2 separate regions of the Homo sapiens genome follow, and region 2 is linked to region 1. Evidence: promoter capture Hi-C in 16 types of primary human blood cells and fetal thymus (Javierre and others, 2016). All regions are on one chromosome and are shown on one strand. Each heading gives the region's core, a stretch centred on a gene start or on the middle of the fragment in contact. The rest is flanking DNA. Distances are from core to core; before and after follow the strand shown.

Region 1 (2,700 bases), core at 147-2,646:
CTGTCATGTAGTCCTATACCAGAGTCAGGCTGGAATTTGGCGTCATTGCTACAGAGTCTACTTTGTCAACTTCAAGATCTGTTTTTGTTTTGTTTTGTTATTTTTTATTGAGATGGAGTCTCACTCTGTTGCCCAGGCTGGAGAGCAGTGGCACGATCTCGGCTCACTGCAAGCTCTGCCTCCCGGGTTCACGCCATTCTCCTGCCTCAGCCTCCCGAGTAGCTGGGACTATGAGCACCCGCCACCACGCCCAGCTAATTTTTTTGTGTTTTTAGTAGAGATGAGGTTTCACTGTGTTAGCCAGGATGGTCTCAATCTCCTGACCTCGTGATCTGCCCACCTTGGCCTCCCAAAGTGCTGGGATTACAGGCGTGAGCCACCGCACCTGGCCACCTCAAGATCTGTTTTAATGTGAATGCTGGTCAGCTGTGTGCCTGAATTCCAAAAGGGAGGAGGGAGTGAGGTATGTCTGTCTCCCCCTTCCCATCACTGCCTGAGCTAGTTTTTCAGGATAACTTGGGAATGCTCTTGGCCAAGCGGAAGGGTCCATTCAGATGGTTGAGGTTTCGAATTGCTGACTGTATCCTTGTAGAATCCTTTAGTACAGTCTTGTCTTCCACATTTCCAGTAATTCACTCTAGAAGCTTGTTCACATTCAGGTTAAATTTTTTCTGGCAAGACTACTTCATAGTGTTGTGTACTTCTGATATCTAACTGACCTTTTTGCGATGTTAATTAGCAGTCATTGATGACATTGCCTAGGTCCGTTAATTCATAGGGTGATGTTTTAATCCTACTGTTTCTTCTTCATTTATTAGCGGGAAAACTTCTATAATGAGAAATTCTTCTCATGCAGTATTTGGTTACTCTGCTGTAAATTTCATAAAGGCAGGACAAATGCTTGATGCTTTCCTTTTATTAACCAGGCCACAAACTGGGGTGAGCTTACCAGCATCCTCCAAAGGTGAACAGAGTTAAAAAATACATTATTATGAATTACAGACTGGAGCATCTGAGGATTTTAAATTCACTCGAATTCCTGTTCTTATTCATGCTCAAATCTTCTTTTTTGGCAATGAGAACCGCTTCAGTTTCGCTTCTATGTTAGCAAGACGTTCATAGTCCTTGGTAAGTTCTTTGCTGTCGGATACGTTTCCCCGCACGTTTCTTTTTTTCAAGAAAACTGGCTTCTTTAGCAGGAACCACCCGCCTCCTCCTGCGGCTCCGCCCGGATCCCGGAAATCCGCTCGGCTCCGCCCCATCCAGGAAATGCTTGCGGCCCCGCCCCAATCCCGTAAGCGCGCGCGGCCCCGCCCCCAATCCCGGAAGCGCGCGCGGCCCCGCCCCCGAAAGTCGGCTCGGCTCCGCTCCAATCCCGGAAGTGCGCGCGGCCCCGCCCCCGCCGGTTCGCGTCTCTCTGCTGCGGCGCGGGGACCGCTGTGCTCTCGGTAGGCGGCTGGGCTGGGTGGGCTCCGCACTTCCTTCCCGCTCCGTGCCGCGCGTCCCGGCACCCTTAGGCCCACTCCGGGAGGGGTCTGCGTCCTGGGCCCGCCTGCCGGCTGTTCCGTGTCCCGCCGTGCCCGTCGCGGGCGGCCTCGCGCCTGTTCCGCTGCAGGTTGGCCCCGGCGGCGGGAGCGCCCCCGATCCGGACAAAGAAACGAGCGCTCGGTGCGACTAGCGGCGCGGGCGGCTTTGCCAGCGCGCGTGTGCTTGTGTCCGCGAGTGTGCGTGTGTGTGTGCATTTGGATGTGGAATGCCGGGTGTTTCGGGAGCAATGAGGCAACTGAGGCCCGGGAGGGAGCCCAGTCATATACCAGCATCTAGGATTGGTTTGTGTGATTTGAACCCACTATTTTTTATTTTTTTGAGACACGGTCTCACTCTGTCACCCAGGCTGGAGTCCAGTGGCACGATTTCTGCTCACTGCAGCCTCCACCTCCCGGCCTCAGGTGATCCTCCCAGCTCAGCCTCCTGAATAACTAGGACCACAGGCGTACACCACCACACCGGGCTGTTTTATGTATTTTCTGTGGAGACGGGGTTTCGCCACGTTGCCCTGGCTGGTCTTGAACTCCGTGACTCAAACAATCCGCACGCCTCGTCCTCCCAAAGTGCTGAGATTACAGGCCTGAGCCACCGCGCCCAGCCTGAACCCCCTACTTAATGTCAGAAATTTGATTTGACTTCACAGGGAAAGCCCTGAGAAACTACCAGAACGGGGTCCCTGGGGCCAGTGTTGGGAGCGTACGGTGAAGTGGCAGGGCTGCTGCGCCCGTGCGGAACTCCGCTGTGGAAGATTAGCCCCTTTGGTGACTCGTCGGTTCTGGCCGCTTTGGGACCCTCTACTGTGCAGTCTGAACTTTCAGCAGGTGGAGGAGGGCAGAGAGAGAGCTGAGATCGTTGGTCCATGCCAGTGCGAGAGCCAGTACGGCCGGAAGCCATGATGGGACTTTCAGTTCCTTTCTTGGTGGAGGCCAGCACAGGGGAGAGGGGGTGCCCACAGATGCTAGAAGCTTAAAGGCTGCTGGGGGCTAGCGGCCTCAGGACATAAGGTTTCCAGACAGGACGGGGCAGGTGGTGATGCAGCTGTAGCTCGTGAGTCTGAGCGGGAAACAGCCCCCGCGCAGTCGGTGTCGCTGTGAACGGAAAAGGGCCTTCCTTACACAGGAAACGGGGTCTCTGGGGGATCCAGTGACGTGC
Region 2 (2,700 bases), core at 32-2,531, 350 kb after region 1:
CAGTCTCCGGTTCCCCTTCAGCGGCCCGGGCTTGCTGAGCCCTCAAAGTAGGACACGCAGCCAGAGACACCTGTGGCCTCACAAGGCCCGCTTGCCCCCCATGGGGTGCCTGGCCCCGCAAGCGCGAAGCGGTCAGAAAAGGGAGGCCGCGCTTCAGGGCTCAGGCCGCCCAAGGGGCCACGATTCGAGGAATCACTCGGGAGGGAGGGAGCGCGCGAGGGCCGGGCTGAGCCCCCGCCCGTGGGTGCGCGCCTGGAAAACTCGCAGCCTCCGCCCTGGGAAGTGGGGCAGCGGCTCCCTTTGTCCGCACCACACCAGGTGGGTGTCCCGGCCGACTCCGCTCGCCACGTGGCCGCGCCCCTCCCCTCCGCCGAGCTCCAGCGGCCTGGAGTGCGCTCGCCCGTTCGGCCCTGCGCCTCGTCCGGGTCCCCGGGAAGCTGCTAAGGAGGGGCCGTCGGGTGGGTGGACGTCCGTCTCGGGTCTGGGTTCCCCGCCGCACCCGCGAGGAAAACCGGGGATGCGCTGCGATGACCGGCAGTAACCCCGGCCGGGGCGCCCGCGGCCGGGGTCAACGCCCGCACTTGCGCCGCGGCCCGCGAGGCATCCGGGACCGCCCCGCCGCCCGCCCATCACCCTATCGCCTAGCAACGCCCACCCGCGCGCCGCCATTGGGCCGGTGCGAACACCCCTGGCGCCCGATTGGTTGCTGCTGCCGCCGCGCCGCGCAACGCCGCGCCCTCAGCCAGCTCCGCGCGGGCAGCGACGGCGGCGTGGAGTCGGCGGCCGAAGTGCGGGCACGCGGGTCCGTCCGTCCTTCCGCGCGCCTGTGGGTCCGAGCGCCCCGCCGCAGCCGGCTGGACCCCCGGTGTGGCCACGGGGTAGTCCCCAGTGTGGCCCAAGCATTCCCATCCCGCACACGTGGCCCCGGCGGACACGGGGGTCGGGGATGGCTCGGGAGGCGCGCCGCGGGCTCGGTCGCAGCCGCGTGCGCGTCGGGGCCCGCGGGGCGGGAGGCGGAAGTCGGGGGGCGGTGGTTTCCCGCCCGCCCCGCCCCCGGCGCTCCTCAGTCCCAGCCCCACCCCCCCAGGCGCGTTCCCGCGCAGGGTCCCGGCTCGGGCGGCGGCGCGCACGAGCATCACCCCACCGGCGGCGGCGCGCCGGGTCCCGGGGCGCAGCCCCGACGCTCATTGGCCTGGGCGGCGCAGCCAAGCTGTCAGCCCATGTGGCGTGGCCGCCCGGGGATGGCCGCGGTTTAAATAGCGTCGGCGCCGGCCTAGAGGGAGCCAGAGAGACGGCAGCGGCCCCGGCCTCCCTCTCCGCCGCGCTTCAGCCTCCCGCTCCGCCGCGCTCCAGCCTCGCTCTCCGCCGCCCGCACCGCCGCCCGCGCCCTCACCAGGTACGAGCAGCCGGCGCTGGGGCCGGGGCGCGGGTCGTGGTCGGGGCTGGGCCCGGGGTTCCCGGGGTGGCCCGGCTCCTCATCCTCCGCTCTCGGGGCGCGCGTGGCCCGGCCCCGTATCCAGGGGTCGCCTGGGCGGCCTGTCCGGGTCTCGGTGTTCGTGCCCCTTCGGAGGCGCCCGGGGCCCCGCGGAGTAGGTGGGCGGATGGCGGGGGAAGGACGCCGGGGAAAGCCACCAACAGCCGCCTTCGCTTCCCGTGGGGGAGGCCGCGGACCCTGAAGGGCCTGGAGGAGCCCCCGGCTCGGCCTCCCCGCGCCCACAAAGGCGCCGCCGCATCCTCCTCCCGGAGCCGCCCCGGAGCCGAGGCCCAGCCCGAAGGGGACGCCGCGAGGGAGGAACGGGGGGGCGCAGGGGCCGCGCCGGGACCGGCCTCCCCATCACGTGGCGCAGCCCGGCCGAAGCGCAGGGGTCCCGAGCAGCCCCCGCCCGGGGCGAAGGGAGGCCGGGCGCGCCGCGGTGTTCCCACCCCCTGCCTGGCCGTCGACCCCGCGTGAATAGCAAGCGGCGAGGACCCAGCGTGCGGGCCTGGAGCTGGCCCGGGGCAGCCAAGCCTCTGTGAATCGCAGCGGGTGGGAAGGCGGCCGCCTCCCTGCCGGGACGGCCCAAGGGAGGCCGCACTGCCGAGGGGCGGCGCGCGTATCAGGCCCTGGGGCCTCGTGCAAGTGGCCAGACCAGCGCTGGCCTCCGCCCCCTCCCCCCAGGGCCGCACCAGCCCTCATGCTGGAGGAGGAGCCGGCGGCCTGGGCACCCGTTCCGGGTCTTAGGGACCTGGGCTCCAGGGAGGGCCTCCTGTGGTGTGTGGGTTGGTATGGGGAGGCAAGCGTCTGTGGGTTCACCCGCGCAGGTGAAGGGTGCCAGGCAACACCTGCGTGTCCTGGCCAGGAGTGGTTCTCCAGGTTGGACCCTGCTGGAGGGGTTGGACTGGCTGGGTCGGTCCACAGTGGGGCAGGGGCCACCTTTCCCCCAGAGCATAGGCTATCCCCATTTCGTCCCTCCCCAGCCCTGGTGGCTCTTGGGCTGGCCTGGACAGCGGGCCCCCACCCCAACACGGGTGAGCATGGGTGCTGAGTACCCCCCTCTAGGGCTCCCAGCCACCTCCATGCCCCGGCTTTGGGACCCTGCCTCTCCATTTCTTTGATGGCCCTTAGCAGGCTGGCCACCTGAGGCCTTGTCCCCATCTCAGGTGACCCTGCCTGCTCCTCACTGTGAGCCCCCTGGTGCCCTAGGGATGGCCTGGGACAAG

The links. Contacts are between HindIII fragments. The CHiCAGO score rates a contact against its expected background, and 5 or more counts as called.
Region 2: the fragment with the promoter of FASN here is called in contact with the fragment with the promoter of CYBC1 in region 1 in 5 of 17 cell types (non-activated CD4 T cells, activated CD4 T cells, fetal thymus and 2 more); the score reaches 9.0 in non-activated CD4 T cells.

The regions. Positions count from the first base shown.
Region 1 is chr17:82,449,448-82,452,147 of GRCh38, reverse strand. It overlaps CYBC1 (cytochrome b-245 chaperone 1), which reads left to right and starts at 1,396. Exons shown (of 7, transcript NM_001033046.4): 1 at 1,396-1,448. RefSeq lists a silencer at 1,336-1,695 and an enhancer at 2,326-2,585. The HindIII fragment of the contact is 1,869 bases long and covers 647-2,515 here.
Region 2 is chr17:82,096,817-82,099,516 of GRCh38, reverse strand. It overlaps FASN (fatty acid synthase), which reads left to right and starts at 1,281. Exons shown (of 43, transcript NM_004104.5): 1 at 1,281-1,396. RefSeq lists silencers at 109-1,588, 1,659-1,848, 1,869-2,078, 2,139-2,188 and an enhancer at 2,057-2,700. The HindIII fragment of the contact is 59,862 bases long and covers 1-2,700 here.